Regions from separate parts of the Homo sapiens genome. Here regions 1, 3, 4 and 5 are each linked to region 2. The links are contacts of gene promoters, found by promoter capture Hi-C in blood cells and fetal thymus (Javierre and others, 2016). All regions are on one chromosome and are shown on one strand. Each heading gives the region's core, a stretch centred on a gene start or on the middle of the fragment in contact. The rest is flanking DNA. Distances are from core to core; before and after follow the strand shown.

Evidence for each region. Contacts are between HindIII fragments. The CHiCAGO score rates a contact against its expected background, and 5 or more counts as called.
Region 1: a contact is called between a fragment that was not itself captured here and the fragment with the promoter of HAND1 in region 2, in 2 of 17 cell types (total B cells and neutrophils). The highest score is 5.8, in total B cells.
Region 3: a fragment that was not itself captured here is called in contact with the fragment with the promoter of HAND1 in region 2 in 2 of 17 cell types (total B cells and naive B cells); the score reaches 5.5 in total B cells.
Region 4: a contact is called between a fragment that was not itself captured here and the fragment with the promoter of HAND1 in region 2, in 1 of 17 cell types (total B cells). The highest score is 6.1, in total B cells.
Region 5: a fragment that was not itself captured here is called in contact with the fragment with the promoter of HAND1 in region 2 in 2 of 17 cell types (neutrophils and total B cells); the score reaches 6.2 in neutrophils.

Annotation. Positions count from the first base shown.
Region 1 is chr5:154,199,725-154,202,811 of GRCh38, forward strand. The region is part of intron 1 of GALNT10 (polypeptide N-acetylgalactosaminyltransferase 10); the gene reads left to right. Among named protein-coding and RNA genes, the nearest start is that of GALNT10, 11 kb to the left of the region's middle. The HindIII fragment of the contact is 4,862 bases long and covers 1-3,087 here.
Region 2 is chr5:154,476,504-154,479,602 of GRCh38, forward strand. HAND1 (heart and neural crest derivatives expressed 1) reads right to left here and starts at 1,724. Exons shown (of 2, transcript NM_004821.3): 1 at 963-1,724. The coding sequence starts at 1,505. RefSeq lists an enhancer at 1-398. The HindIII fragment of the contact is 6,833 bases long and covers 1-3,099 here.
Region 3 is chr5:154,175,573-154,179,021 of GRCh38, forward strand. All of the region lies in intron 1 of LOC124901118 (a long non-coding RNA gene), which reads right to left. Among named protein-coding and RNA genes, the nearest start is that of GALNT10, 13 kb to the right of the region's middle. The HindIII fragment of the contact is 2,643 bases long and covers 831-3,449 here.
Region 4 is chr5:154,758,161-154,761,691 of GRCh38, forward strand. All of the region lies in intron 1 of LARP1 (La ribonucleoprotein 1, translational regulator), which reads left to right. Among named protein-coding and RNA genes, the nearest start is that of LARP1, 4.5 kb to the left of the region's middle. RefSeq lists a silencer at 1-96 and an enhancer at 2,933-3,042. The HindIII fragment of the contact is 2,588 bases long and covers 572-3,159 here.
Region 5 is chr5:154,159,156-154,162,294 of GRCh38, forward strand. No RefSeq gene overlaps it. Among named protein-coding and RNA genes, the nearest start is that of GALNT10, 30 kb to the right of the region's middle. The HindIII fragment of the contact is 6,524 bases long and covers 1-3,139 here.

The DNA of each region.
Region 1 (3,087 bases), core at 588-3,087, 280 kb before region 2:
GTATTGTGGAGACCCTGTAAACCTCTCCCTTGTACTGGAGAGAGCAGAGGAGAGAGTGTGGAGTTGGGAACCAATGTGACCTGATCCTCAGGCCCAGCTCTGCCACTTGCTGGCTCTGTGCCTGACCTCTGGGGCTTCCTGCTCCTTCTCCTAAAATGAGCAAAGTCATCACTACTTCCTAGTGTCATGGTGATGATTAGATGAAATTAAATAACAGTTGTGAGGATTGAGGTACAGAGAGGTCAGGTAACATATCCAGGGCCACGCAGCTAGGAAGTGATGGAAACAGGATTCCAATCCAGCTGGGATGCTTCCTTCCGGTATCTGCGCCAGCCACTGACTGGATGGTCTGGGGCGAGTCTGTGGGTCTGCCCCTGCTCACAGGGACTTGCGGAGGCCTCAGTGGGAGGTTATCACTGAGACCCCCATGAGCCTGGTTCTTGTTGTTGGCTCCAGAAAGCTCTTTCAGCTGAATACCCAGGCAGCCGTGCCAGGGCAGGGATTATAGCAAGTCCCATGTGCCGCCTGGATGCTGCACTCGGGCAGCCTCTCACGAGCCCAGTTCGCCAGGGTTCTGTGTGTGTGTGTTTGTGTAGGTCTCCCTTGTGAGTTACAAATGTCAGCCTCCTCTGAGAGGCGGGCTGCTGAGCAGAGGGGCCGACAGGGGCTCCTGGAGGGAAGGGGGTTTCTTCGAGGGAACAGGTTGGAAACATCTGGCAGGGGTGTGTGTGTGAAAATTACGTCCTGCTGCTAAAGCACATTGTATGTTCTCAACTGAAAACTGTTATTTTTTGCATGTTTCCTCCTGAGTATTGATCAGAGTCAGCTGCTGAGAGTTAAAATGTGTATGTGTGTGTGTGTGCCTATTTGTGAAATAACCAGTTTCTAAATTTGGTACCTAACTTCAGTGAAAAGTTAGTAATTCTGTTCTTGGAGAGCCAGGATCTGTCATTTGGATTTGTGGTTATTTTATTAATAATAAACTTTAATGGCTATTTCATTCAGAGAGCTTCTTTTATTAATTTCTTTGACCTTTATGTATTTTTAATCACCTTACCTGTATACTTTAATGGAAGTTGCAAACTGGTGGCCTGTGGGCCAGATGCAGCCCAGAGATACGTTTTGTGTGCCTTGAACAGTGATGGCCCATAGATAGTTGGGTTTTTTAATTTTTAAATGTTCATATGTTACCAGTACCTAACCATGAGAATATTTCCTATTTTAAAACAATTCTATACTAATTTCTGTTTTTTTTGTTTTTGTTTTTGTTTTTTTGTTTTTTAATCAAAGTTCAGCTGCTGAGTTCAGGTTCAAGTTTTGTAAGAATTTGCTGGATGTGGGAACAGCTGTCTCCTCTAGACAGACCCTAGCTCTCCAGTTGGCCACCACCCCTGCTGCACTTAGTGGTCTCAAACCTGGGCACTTCACCCTTTCACACAACTGGCCAGGCTGCAGGAGACATTCGACTTTGGGAGCCCTCCTTTATGATATGCAAATTCCCATAGGCTTTTCCCAGTTCTGCCTCCACCAGTATCACGGTGGAGGCAGGGCAGGGCTTACGGTCCCCACTTCACAGATGCAAAAACTGAGGTTCAAAGAGCATAAGTGACACGACTAGTACCAAAGCCAATAAGTTGATGCTAATCCTTCTGTCTCTAAGACTAATGTACTTTTCAGAGAAAAAAAAATAATTACTTGGAAGTGTAAGTATATAAACCTTAGGCTCTGACAGACTCACTTATGTTTATATTTAGATGATTCTTGCTCTATCTCAGCTCAAGAAACCATTTGCCTTGCTTCTGTCCATTTCTAGGTATCTGAATTTCAGGTCTACCCTGTCTAATAAAGTTTTGTTGTTGTTGTTGTTGTTGTTTTTAGCCATGTCAGGGGCTGCTCTAGATTTGTTAGAAATGATGTAGGTACAGGCCAGGCGTGGTGGCTCTCACCTGTAATCCCAGCACTTTGGGAGACCAACATGGGCAGATGACGAGATCAGGAGTTTGAGACCAGCCTGGCCAACATGGTAAAACCCCGTCTCTACTAAAAATACAAAAATTAGCCGGGTGTAGTGGCGCACTCCTGTAATCCCAGCTCCTCAGCAGGCTGAGGTAGGAGAATCATTTGAAGCTGGGAGGCGGAGGTTGCAGTGAGCTGAGATCGCACCACTGCACTCCAGCCTGGGTGACAGAGCAAGATTCCGTCTCGAGGAAAAGAAAAAAAAAAAAAGAAATGATGTAGGTACAGAATCCACCTTGTTTTCTGCCTGTGCTTCCTGGCATGTCGGGAAACCCCAGAATGTATCTTCCTATTATTGGGGAAGTGTTAGGATCCATTAAATGAGAGTGAAGACAGGTTTCCCAGCAGAAATGGTACATGCTCCACTCCCTGGTCTGAGGGGACCTCACAGGCACCCAGGAGGTTTCTAGAAAAGAGAGAACCTGGATGAGAACAGCTTAGGTCCCCCCAGAGGCAGCTGAACATAGCCACTCATGTCTCTGAGAGTAGGGTTCATTGCCGGGGCAGGAGTGGGGGTCCCTCTGCCCGCCATTTCAAGAACCTTCCCTTGGAGGCTCCAGGTGGCTCCTGGTGTGGCAGTGGGGCATGGAGTGTGGGGCACAGCTCGGTGTGGTGGCCAGGAGTTAGCTTTGTCCTTGAGCACTGGCTCCACAGCAGAAACAGCAATGATCATTAGTTTATTGAGCTCTTACTGCGTGCTATGCACTGTGCCCATCTCAGTTCATCAGCACTGTAATCCCAGGGAGTGAGTGCCCTTACTGTTGTCATTTTACAGATGGGAAAACTGAGGCTCAGGAAACTTAAGTCACTTCCCAGGCCTATACAAGAAACAAGTGGTGGGACTCAAACTCAGATTTCTGACTCTCCAACTTGTGCTCTTAGCTACCATGTTTTATTGACTCCTCTGGGCAAGTCTTTTAACGTCTTTTGGCCTCCATTTCCTCACCTGTAAGTGGGAATAATACCTTCTTGGCACACGAGCAGAGTCAGTTTTCCCACCCATAACTCTTCCTGCCACCCCTCCCTCGGGGCGGTTGTCAGACACTGGTGTGGTGTGAGCTATCTTTCCCG
Region 2 (3,099 bases), core at 474-2,973:
GCGCCGCACCTCGAAAGAAGCCGGCCTGCACCATCCCCAGTCCGGGGCAGCCGTTTAGAGACTCGATGCCTATTTATCTTTCCCTCGTCCCTGGATGAGCTTTCGTCAGTTTACCACAGGCCCCCGCAGGTTGGATAAACCAGGTGGGGCGCTTCAGCTGGCTCCACTCCGCTACGGCCTTAAGCCCCCCAACCTAGAGAAACTGATTGGCCAGCCTGAAAACCCAGCGCTCAGAAGCCCCCAGCCCCGGACAGCCAGACCGAGTGCCAGGAAGTGTCACCCTAACCGGAGAGGATCAAGAAGGCCAAGACGAGACTGCGCTCTCCAAAGCTAAAAGAAGTGGCTCTTATTTACATGCAAAGCCACTGAAGTCGTCCTCAGAACCAGTCCATGGGGAGAACCAGAACTGGCCCTGGACTGAGTAGAAGACCCGATCTGTTTTACCTCACCTCCACCCTGGACTCCTCAGATAGGTGCTTTTCCTGCCCCGACCCACTCTGGGCCCTCAGTTTCCCTATTTATACAATGATGGAAGTAGACTAGCCGGTCCAGCAAAGGCCCTTTGAAAACAGGAACCGAGCCCGGGCACATAAATTCAAACTCAAAGTAAAGAACTTTAACACATATTCTTAACCTGGCTTCCAGGAGAGCCCAGGAATGAATCAGGACTTCTCCAAATTGGAAGCAAAACCTGTGGTGTGTGCATTTTTGGAGGGTCCGAGGCTCCAAACAGATTATTCACTCAGTATTACAAACACTCTCCCGTATTACAAATGAATTCTATGACGAATCTGCCTCCCTCCATGCACAGGATCGCACGCTGTGACCAACCATCTCAGAACTCTTCCCAACCTTTCCAAATCGGACACAGGACAACACAGCCTCCTTCGACTACCTGCATGGCCTGAGGCTGCTCACCGCTCCTGCACCCTTGGCTGGAGCATGCAAGCCCCAGGACTCACCAGCTCCCTTTTCCGCTTGCTCTCACGGCCGCCATCCGCCTTCTTGAGTTCAGCCTTGAAGGCCTCGGGATCGCCAGACTGTGCATCCTTGGCCAGCACGTCCATCAGGTAGGCGATGTAGCTGGTGGCTAGGCGCAGAGTCTTGATCTTGGAGAGCTTGGTGTCGGCCGGCACGTTGGGGATGCACTCGCGCAACTCCGCGAATGCGCTGTTAATGCTCTCAGTGCGTCTCCGCTCCTTCTTGGGTCCTGAGCCTTTCCGCCGGCCAAGACGGCCGCCAAGCGCCTCCAGCCGCCCGGGGCTCTGCCCAGGCCTGGCGTCAGGACCATAGGCGGTGGCGGCTGCAGCGGCCGCGGGCGGCGGCCCGCCCGCAGGGAAGTCCGGGGCAGCGTCAGCCGGGCTCAGCAGCCAGCTCTGGAAGTAGGGCCTTTCCTGATGACAGCGCGAGGCCGGACCGAAGAGGAAGGGTTCGTGGAGCATGGGGTGCGCAGGGTGCGGGTGGTGATGGTGGTGATGGTGTGCGTAGCTGCCCACGAGGTTCATGTTGGAGCGGCTACTGGCCTGCGCCGCCAGCCCTATTAACGCCGCTCCATGCGCCCCAGAGACTGCCGGGGGCCACCTGTGGGCTCTGGAGCCACTACTGGGCGCCGGCTTTGGGAGAGTCCGGGCAAGGCTGAAAATGAGACGCGCAGCCCACTGTCTTCTTACCGGTTTCTGCCGCGGGCGAGGTCGCCGAAGCCCAAAGACCTGTTTAACCCTTCTGCGGACTCCCCTGCGGATCTGGCTTATATAAGACCGCGGCTTTGATGTCAACCTCTCCCGGGAGCCAATGGCAGGGGGGCGGGGATAAGGAAAAGGGGGAGTGGCTATCCCAGGTTTTACGCTCAGCCCGCGCCACTCTAGTCCGCCAGCAGGGACTGGGAACCGGCCCCGCCTCTGCCCCTCCCACTCAGCTCCCTGCTCTGCGGGCTTAGGGGGGCGGGCTGCTGGGGGTGTTGAGGGGGCGGGCACGGGGACTACGTACTTGAGGCACAGGACGGCCAACGCCCTGGACTGTTGCTGCCACCCCCTCCCCACGGATCCAAGGAAAGGAATCCAGAATCACCAAGCGAAAAGAAGGCCTACACCTAGAGCCCGCCTTTTGATTTTACAGACAAGGAAACTGAGGCCCAGGGAAAGAAAGGTTCTTGTTTCTAGACTGTCTAGAAGTCTAAATAGGAATTCCAGCAGTTCCCAGTCCCGAGCTCCAACTGCTCTGCTCGGCGTCAGAGCTAGAAGATGAGAGGGCGCTGCTGAAGACAGGATAGGCCGCTAACGTTCTTCCCTAACACCTTCCAGCCCTCCGCCCCCACCCCCACCCCTTAGTCATCGGCCCTTTCTGGAGAGACTGGGAGCCGCTTGTGCACGGGGTCGTTACCAGCCCGCCAATTCTGACCCAGCCTCAGGCAGACGGGCACGCAGCTACTGACCAGCGAAGAAGCCTTTCGGAGGCAGGGGTAGGGGTGGGGCGGGAAGGAGGAGGCGGACTCCAGGCCCACGGGCATCGACGGGTTTGTTCCCGGCTTGAGGGTCTGAGATCCACTCCGGCCTCCCGGGTGCCTGATCCATTCCGAAGGCCAGCCCGGCTGGCGCAGAGACAGTCTGGCGTCCGCCTTGGGCCCGGGGCATCTGGCCAGCAGGTCTCCTCTGGTCTGTCCGCAGGACTCGCACCGAGACCTGGGAGCGCGGCTACGTCGGGCCGCTCTACCCAGATCATCACTCCTTAAGAATCTTTGGTTCTTTAAAGACACCGGCCCCGAAGCTCACACCTCGAGACACCAGCATTCGGCGTTAGACACACGCAGAGGGGACCAAGACTGCACAGCATCCGCGAGGCTCGCACAGGCAAACGCGACGTCCGGCATCTCTCACGCATCAGCGCAGAGGCGCGACTCGGCTGCACGACCCTCCGAGATTTCACCCCGGGGGTAGGGCCATTCCCTGCCAGCCGGACTCTCTCCACTGTGGGCTTTCCCCAGGCTCGCGTTGGAATCTGGGAATCCCGGAGTGGTGACGCTTCAAGCTGGGGACTCTCGGTCTTACCTCCCGCTGTGGTTCCTTTCTTGGCCGATGTCCACCTACCTGGGTCCCTCATTCT
Region 3 (3,449 bases), core at 902-3,401, 300 kb before region 2:
CACTAGACTGTGAATCCTGGGTGAACATCTGCTTGCTCACCACCCAATCCCTAACATCTGTTACAATGCCTGGCTTGTGGTAGGTACTCAATAAATATCTGTTGAATGCATAAATGAGTCAATGAGGTGATGTTCATAAAGAACTTAGCATAGTATCTAAGCATGGTTAAATCTTCTATTAAAGGTAGTAGTTGTTTACTTAATATTAGGATGATGCTGATTACTAGTTGTTTGACTTTAGACAAATGAAATCCCTGAGTCTTGGGGATATGGTTTGAATGTGTGTCTCCTCAAAATCTCATGTTGAAACATGGCCTCCAGGCTGGGCACAGTGGCTCACACTTGTAATCCCAGCACTTTGGGAGGCAGAGGCAGGCAGATCACGAGGTCAGGAGATTGAGAACATCTTGGCCAACATGGTGAAACCCCATCTCTACTAAAAATACAAAAAATTAGCCGGGCATGGTGGCAGGTGCCTGTAGTCCCAGCTACTCAGGAGGCCGAGGCAGGAGAATCTCTTGAACCCGGGATGAGGAGATTGCAGTGAACAGAGATCGCACCACTGCACTCCAGCCTGGTGACAGAGCGAGACTCTGTCTCAAAAAAAAAAAGAAAAAGAAAAGAAAAAGAAAAAGAAAAATATGGCCTCCAATGCTGGAGGTGTGCCTAGTGGGGGCAGATCTCTCATGAATGGATTGGTGCCCTCCCCATGGTTAGGAGTTCACAAGAGAGCTGGCTGTTTAAAGAGCCTGGCTCCTCCTTCCTCTCTCTCTTGCTCCCTCTCTTGCCAAGTGACACACCAGCTCCCCTTCCCTTCTACCACGTTTGAAAGCTTTCTGAGGCCTCACTAGGAATGAATGCCAGCACCACACTTCCTGTACAGCCTGCAGAACCCTGAGCCAAAGTAAACCTATTTTCTTCACAGATACCCAGTCTCCGGTATTCTGTTATGGTAACATAAATGAACTAATACATTTGGTTTCCTCATTTGTGTTATGGATACAATAATATCTATCTCCAGGTTTTGTTGCTTAATAAGCTAATAATATATACAGATCACACACTGTAAGGTTTCACACATAAAAAATACTTAATCAGTGGTAGAGAGTGATGTCACCAAAATGGTGGAGTAGAAGCAATCTGGCTTTACTCTCTCCCACTGAAAATCAAAATCAAATACCCAGCACCTAGATTATCACCAGCAATATCCCAGAACTCAAATGTGAGGATGAGAAATTCCCTGGGGCCACAGAGATGTAAAAAAACCCTGAGCAAATGGTAAGAGCAGACTCCTATATCTACAACACACCTCCACCAGTAAGTGGGGGCTGTTACTAAGGAAAAATAGGGCCAGATGTAATGGCTCACACCTGTAATCTCAGCACTTTAGGAGTCTGAGGCAGGTGGATTGCTTGAGCCCAGGAGTTCGAGATGACCTGGACAACAAAGTGAGACCCTGTCTCTACAAAAAAATCAAAAAATTTGCTAGGCATGGTGGCGTGCACCTGTAGCCCCAGCTACACAGGCTGAGACAGGGGGATCACTTGAGCCCAGGAGGTCAAGGCTGCAGTGAACCTTGTTCACACCACTGTACTGTCACTTGTCATCATCCTGGTGACTGAGCAAAAAAAAGAAGAAAGAAAGGAAAATAGTATAAAATAAATAAACAAAAGAATCAGGCAAATCTCTTAATTGATGTTGAAATGACAGACGCGTTGCCTCAAGAGCCTCTCTCTTGCACCTTTCCCTGTCTTCTAAGATATGGTAGCTATCCATTCTTCAACAAGTGCTGGTCGAACAGATACTATGTGCTAGGCACCACACCAGCTGCTAAGAGCAGCATTAAAACAATGAGTAATCAATGGGTATGAGTTTCTTCTGTGGTGATAAAAATGTTCTAAAATTGATTATGTTGATGGTTGCACGCAGCTGTGAATATATTAAGACATTGACTTGTACACTTTAAATGCGTAAATTAATTGTATGACATGTGAATTATATCTCAATTAAACTGTTAGTTTTTTAAAAAAAGAAAGGAACAATAGACCTGAGTCAACCACATTCTATCTGTGTGATTTTGGGCAAGTCACCTGACATCTTTGCTTCAGTTTTCTCTTTTGAGAAGTAGGAATAATAAAAGAACTACTTCATGGGGTTTCAATGAGGATTAAAAGAGAAGACATCTGTAAGGTGCTAGTTAGCACTTGGTATGTAATAAGAGGTCCATAAATGTTAGCCAACATCATCACCCTCATCTTTATTAGTATATAATGCTAAAATAGGAATATACACAGTAGTATGAGAAAAAAAGAGGAAGGAGTTCTTAGTCAAACTGGATGGGAAAGTGAAGAAGTGATGGAAGAGGAGATGGCATTGAAGCTGAGTAAGAATTCATCAGTACAAGAGGATGTGAAGGGTATTCCTGGAGGAGGAAACAGCATGAGCAAAGGCATGGGGGTGAGAAATAGCATTATTAAGGTAATGAGCGACTAGCAGTTTTGTATAAAGTGTAAGGCCAGCAACTCGGACTTTACTGTGAGGACAATAAACCTCCAGAGGGAAGCAACATGGCAAGTTGGCATCCCAGAATGGTCACTCCAGTGGAGAGGATGAATGTTAGGGAATGCAGGACAGAAATGGCAGAGGAGTTAGGAGTGAGAGATACAACAATTCAAGCGAGAGATGGTAATGGCTACAACTTGGACTTTGAGTCAAGAGTATCAAGTATCAAGGCCAGGGCTCCTTTGGTCGTAAGTGACAGAGTCACTCATAACGTCAGGGAAGGCGTAAACTCCAAGGCAGGGGCTTCAGTCTAGTCAGGCATCCCAGAAACCAGAACTGGAACTGGAAAACCAGGAGGCAAGGTGATTCTCTTTCAGTTTTCTCTCTCAGCATCCCTGCCTCCCATACTTGGGCTGCACTGGCTTCTTTTGACTGAAGCACTTCCTCTGTTACTCCTGGTTTCTGCCTTCCCATATCTTCTCCTTCAGTGTGGCCCAAGAGTAATCTCCACCCTTGTGCTACCTGAACTGCCACCTTCAGAGGCCACCACCAGCTGCCTTCTTCCCTCTGTGTCACTGGATTCCAATTTCTGAGATAGAATCTGAATGGCTCAGCTCATCCTTTTGAACTTGCCTTAGGACAGTTCAGGAAAGTCATAGGTCAAGGACCAGCCCAGAAATGAGGGTGGAGGCTGTCTACAAAGTAGAAAACGGAGTCATTATAAGTAGCAGGTTTCTGCTCAAGGATTCATCTTACAGGCACCTGAAATATGTCTCATATAATAGGCCTAGAGGGGAAGGGATACATTTAAAATTTATTAGGCAATAAAACCAGCATTATTAGGTAATTGTTTGAATGTGGGAGGGGAGTTGACCCGGAGGCATGGATGACATCAGGGGTTGGCTTGGGTAACTGGTTGATCTCTCAGCTCCACTTTCCCCTGTGTT
Region 4 (3,531 bases), core at 616-3,115, 280 kb after region 2:
TCAGGTGGTATTGGGTGCCTGAGCTGGCATTTTGTGTAAGTCCAGGAGCCCTTGATAGTGTGCGTCACTGGGGTTATTGATCGTGGGAAGAAGACAGCTTGGCTGGCATCTCACCTTTTCCTCTGAGTGGAGAAGCTGACTTGCTTTAAGTGCCCAAAGCAAAATTCTGAGTAAGGGTAGATTTGCTCTGTTATTGTTTTTTGGAATCTTAAGGCAAGAGAGTGTCTACTTGTTGGTTTAGAACCTTTGGAATAGGTTTTGACAGCCTAACTCAAGTTAATCCAGTAGCTTCTCTCTCTAAGCCTGTTGTTAGGGTTTGTGTGCATTTTGAGAGAGAATTCTATGATTGGGTTGTCAGTCTGGTAAGGCTAGATGATGACCCTTTCTCTGGAGCCTACGTGGATCTCTGAAGTGCTTTTCCAGCCCTGGTTTTATTTACAGCTTCGACAAATTTAAACGTGACACTAGTGGAGTGGCTGTGTGGTCTTGGGAATTTTTGTGTTCTGTGATGCACATGTTTTTGGGAGTCTACAGAAATGAGTACCTCATAAGCAAACTAAAAGCTTTCCAAAGCTTGCTGTAAATGCCTATTTTTAGCCTTACTTTTGGCTCAAATGTTGGTGTTTTAGTTCTTTAAGGGACACATGCAGTAACTAGTAATAAAATATGTTTCGTGATATCTCTACTTTCTTGTGGGGTTCTGTATTCTGGTTTAAGCGTCCAAGTCTTACATTTGTAGTTTTAAGTCTTGGGATTTGCATTTTGGTTTTTTAGATCTCCCTCCCTCCCCAGAGTATTTTTAAATGTTTAAAATTTTTGTCTTATCCTAGCCATACCCCTTTTAAGTATAAGATCCAAGACGTCTAAGTTAAGAGATGATACATAGCGAATATTCTGGGGTCAAACTGAGTGGGTTCAAATGCCACTGTACCACTTGTTAGCTGTGCTTCCTTGGGCAAGTTATTTAACCATTCTATGCCTCACCTTCTTAATTTGTGTAATAGGTATTTATGATTCACCTGCCTCATGGGGGTATTACCAGCATTCATTGTTATGATAAGTGTATTTAGCCCAGTGCCTGGCAGGTAGACATTGTTACTTACTCTGGGTCTTGGTGGGACTTTTCCCTGGGTCTCTGGTTTTCTCTACCTGTAATATGATGGGGTTGGTGAATGCAGATCTTTCCTTTTCTTGTGTTATATAAGTACTCCGTGAAATGTATGGGATCTGTCTCCTTAAAACTTGACTTTTGCTTATCCACAGACATGAAGGGCATGGATGGATAATTTAAAGGTTGCTGACTCTTAAGAATTAGCTATTTTTTGCTTTGGAATGTGGTGAGATGAATTTTAAAAAAATAAGTTTTAACTTTTTAGTTTGCCTTTTGTAAAGATTTTCTTTGGGGGGAGTTGCACGTGTGCTCTCAGGGATATGAGGAAAAGCCAGCCTAACTGGACTGAAAGTTTGCTGTGGCTGGTGCACATGTAGTGCCGTGAGACTTGAGAGTACAGATAGTCCCCAACTTATGATGGTTCAATTTATGATTTTTTGACTTTATGTTGTTGGGAAAGTGATACACATTTATTGGAAACTGTACTTCAGGTACCCATACAACCATGGTTTTTCACTTTCAGTACAGTATTCAATAAATTAATTACATGAGACATTAAACGCTTAAAATAGGCTTTATGTTAGATGCTATGGCCATCCGTAGGCTAATATAAGTGTTCTGAGTGCATTTAAGATAGGCTGGGCTAAGTTTGTTTGTTTGTTTGTTTGTTTGTTTGTTTGTTTTTTTGGAGACAGTCTGGCTCTGTCGCCCAGATTGGAGTGCAGTGGTGTGATCTCGGCCCACTGCAACCTCCACCTCCCGGGTTCAAGCGATTCTCCTGCCTCAGCCTTGAGAGTAGCTGGGATTACAGGCATGTGCCACCATGCCCGGCTAATTTTGTATTTTTAGTAGAACGGGGTTTCTCCATGTTGGTCAGGCTGGTCTCAAACTCCCGACCTCAGGTGATCCACCTGCCTTGGCCTCCCAAAGTTTTGGGTTGGGATTACAGGCGTGAGCCACCGCGCCCGGCCCTAGGAGCTACTTCTGATCCTGCTCATGACCAGCAATGTGGACACCGGCAAACGCTTTGCTTTCTCTGTGCCTGTTTCTTCGTCTGTAAAATCAGGGTATTAGACTAGGTCTAAATGTCTTAAAATTTTTCTAGTATCAAAAATTTTTTTCTAAAACTCCCTCCCCACAAAAGAAAGAAACCAAAGTAGAGCTTTATATATGTGTAGCTTTGTATTTGCGTTGTGATTAGGAATCCAAGCTCTCTGGAGGCTGGAGAAACTCTTCTGGCTTCAGGAGCCTAAGTCGATGGCTTGGGGGTGTATAATGGAGCAGCCAGACATTATGTGCCTTACAGTGTCTGAAAGCACACAGCACTGCCTGAAAATTTCCTCCACCAAATAAAAACTGAACCTAAATCTAACAGAACCATAGATCCAACTGCCAGTTTATAGGGAAATGGGGCTACAGGAACAGACTAATTAGCCATGAGGTAGGCAGTTATTCAGTTTCTAAATGTGAGAAATTCTACAAGACACACTATTTCCAATAAATAAATGGCATTTTTTAAAGGGAAGAACTGTTACAGATGAAGAAAGTTGAGACATCAGTCGTGCATTGTTGTGGATCTTGTTTGGATCTTGATTCTTGACCAAATGTCCAAAGACATTTTGATGACAACTGAGGAAATTGACTAAGTTAAGAAATTATCTTATTTTGTCAGGGGTGATAATGGTATTATGATTGTTTTTAACTGTGTAACTGGATATATTGTGCACCCCCACCTAAGAACTGTTAGGTTAGTCTATTACATAAGACTTAAGGCTTTTTCCTATTGTGCACTTGATCTTAGCCAAAAGGCCAAGAAGCAATATAGTGTGAATCACTTTCTCTTCTTCTAAGGAAAGGTCACAATTAGGACACCCTTTGAAGGGGAGAGTGGGAGGCAGCTTTCATCGGGAGCCTTCAGCTGGCCTGGCCCCTTTCCTTTTGCACAGGTAGTTTGAGTTTCATACTAACCCGGAAGTGAGTGCCTGCCAGGTAGGGGAAGGTTTTTAGGAAGTGGTTTTTGGCCCTTTGGGAGGTAGAGGGTAGTCACAAGCTTTCTTGAACTCTGAACCTCCTGAGGGTCGGGGTCTTTCTGCTGACCCACCCACTGTCTATAGTGGGACCTGAACTGGAGTAAGCAATCTTAATAGCTGTTACTGAGCACCCATTCTCTTTTCTGGGAGGTGGGCAGGGTGGGAGGAGGAGGAGGAGCAGCCGGCCTGAAACTACAAAACCTCTTTAAGATGGAGAGCTTGGCAGATGGGAGTTCCCCTGTTTGCAAAACCCAAGACAGCTCAAAGGGAGTAATTAGGGTGTTGGGGCCACTGGAGGTTCAGCAGGTGCCTCAGTCCAGACTCAAAAACCTCCCTGGCTGGTCCAGAGTGATCTAAGGGAGTGGCCAGGAGAGAGGATGGCCTTACCTT
Region 5 (3,139 bases), core at 366-2,865, 320 kb before region 2:
GTCACATCCTATTTGAGCATGTTTGTTCCTCTAGTGGTCATCTCTGATTTCCTCAAACCTCTGCTTAACCTCTGACTTTCTTCCTTTCCAAAGCCAGGATACCAGCTCTCCCTTAATTCTCAAAACACATCTCTTTGGTTGCTTTTAGCTATAAGTAAGTAACAGAAAACCCAACTCAAATGCGTTTAAACAATATAGACATTTTATTCCATTTCTTTAACCAGAAGTTCCAAAGGAGGGTACCTGGTACCTCCAAGGTTAATTAATTCAGTGGCTCAGCAATATTATCAGGGACCCAGGTTCTTTCCACTTTCTCCCTCCACCATCCTTATGTGTGTTGGTTTTGCTCCCAAGTTGACTCTGTTTTCCCCTGAGTCATAAGCTGGCTCACACTATTCCAGGCATCACTCAGGGAAAAAAAATCTCCAGCAAAAGAAGAGTTTTTTTCTTCCTGTGTGTCTCTTTGTAACAGAAAGGAAGCCTTTTCTAGAAGTCTCTCCACAGAATTGCACTTACATGTCATTGGACAGAATTTTATCACATAAGCAAACTTCTGGGTGTAACTGATAAATATCTTTATTATTTTGATTATAGTGATAGTTTCACAGCTGTGTTCATGTGTCAAATTGTATGCTTTAAATGTGCACAAGATATTGTATGTGTCAATCATACTTCAATAAAGCTGTTTCAATAATTTTTGCATAAGTAGCAAATAAATATGCTCTCCTGGTAAAAAGTTAAGACATTATATATAAAGCGAAACTATCCTTTTCCACTATCTCTCTGTCCTTCCAGTTAACAGATTAGTGTGTATCTTTACAGATCTTTTTCTGTACATTTATGGATATGATGTACCCACGGAATATATAGAGTACTACCTGTTTGTTATTCTTTTTCCATAAAAGTCATGTTGTATGTAAGATGTTGCAATTTCCTTTTTAGAACACGATATTTCTTGGAGCTGTTTCTAAGTCAGTATTTAGAGGTTCACCTAATTATTTTTAGCTGGATAGTATTGCGAGATACAGGTATAGCCTGGTTTATCCAGACATTCCTCTCTGCTTTCGTTTGTTCTCAACTTTCCATTATTTCAAACAGTCCTTCAACAAGGATCCTCAGGCAGGCCTCTTTGTACAAAGTCTCTGACATGGATCCCAGACAATAGGGTTTGGACAATTTTAATTGCTCTCCAAAGCGGCTGCACCCGCCAGCAGTGGTTAAGAGCACACATTTTTCCAACAATGTTTGATGTTCTCAAATTTTTGTTTGCCATATTATGGATGAAAAATGATATGTCATTCTTTTAATTTGTATTTTAAGGGGAGTTTTCACAGAAGAAAAGATTTCTGCACCCCAGTCTTGGCCATTCTAATCTGAGGCTTAAGAATCTGAGTGATTTGGCCAGGCTCAGTGGCTGATGCCTGTAATCCCAGCACTTTGGGAGGCTGAGGTGGGCAGATCACTTGAGGTCAAGAGTTTGAGACCAGCCTGACCAACATGGTGAAACCCTGTCTCTACTAAACATACATAAAAAACTAGCTGGGCATGGTGGCGCACACCTGTAGTCCCAGCTACTTGGGAGGCTGAGACAGAAGAATTGCTTGAACCTAGGAGGCGAAGGTTGCAGTGAGCAGAGATCTCACCACAGCACTCCAGCCTGGGTGACAGAGTGAGACACTGTCTCGAAAAAAAGAATTAAAAGAGAGAGAGAGAGAGAATCTGAGTAATTTTTTCCAGGTGATGTGCAGTGAGGTTTGGTGATGTCTCTTCCAGCTCTGTTGTTCTGTGATCCTGACACTCCTGCCTCCTCCTAGGCATGGGACTTGTTTAGGCCCAAGGTCTACACCATCTTTGCCACTTAAATTGCTGCTTTCTCCATGGGGGAAGATTTTTAAGACAAAGAAGTCCTGGTGACTCTGGCCTTTTACTGCGTGTGACTGATGGAGCCATATTTCAGATGTCCCACTGAGGAAATCCTACTCCTGGGAAGGAAGAGACTAACCCATGCTGCTCTATTGTTTGCTGGACACTATGCTGGGCTTTGTTGTCATTTGATTTCTACTGGGTCATTTAAACATCGCAGCAACCTTGGGAAATATTATTGTCCTCATTTTACAGATGAGGAAACTGAAGTACACAGTGACTTAGTAATTTGCCCAAGGTCACATAGCTACTATGGAGCCCCTATCCCAGATTTGACAGACTCCAAAGCCTGTGCTCTTTTCATTATACCACCTGCCTACAAATTAAGGTGTCTAAGGAGACAGAGACCATGGATGGCCAGTGCCTCCTTTCCAGAGATGCTCAGAGGAGTCTACTCACTTTGGCTCCCAATTCTCAGCCCCTTCCTGCCTTAACAACCCAAGTTCCTGACTCTTGGAGGTCTCTAGAAGGTAAGAGTCATATTTTATTTGACTTAGCATGTAGTAGCTAGAAGATGAGCATCATATTTTATTTGACTTAGTATGTAGTAGCTTCTTTGATCAATCCTGGGGAATGTGTTCCTGAAAATATGGACTGGGGAATAGATGGATTGGGGTACGAGAGAGAGAAGGATTAAGTTCCACCTTCTGATCATCCTTGCTGCTTCCACCTTCTGAAATTCATGCAGAATATATCTATAAAAGTGACTTGTCTCAGTGAATTACAGTCAATGTTTCAATTTCTTGAGCTTTTTTTTTTTTTTTGGATTCTGAGAAACTTTAAAAGAATAGTATATGCCAAATTACCATGTATCCGCCGTGTAAAAATAACCAAAAAAAATTGTCAGATTTCTTTTTTTTTAATAAAATAAGCAATATGTCACTCATCTGAAGATGAAATCCCCTGATTCCCATTCCAGGTTTCATTTCCTCCTCACCTCATCCCCCAGGAACCTCAGATATAAATTTTGATAATTTCTGCCTAATCTGTTTTTATACTTATAAGTATCCATTAAATACATGTATCATGAACAAATAAAAATAACAAAAGTAGTTTATATAAATGGTATCACACTGTACCTATTATTCTGCTGCCTGCTTTTCTCCTCTTTATGCTGTGCCACTGAGAGCCCTTTAAAACTTAAGAATCATGTCTTCTCTAATCACCACATCCCTGGTTGCCTTGTACATTCCAAATGCTTAATAAATGAGAAAGG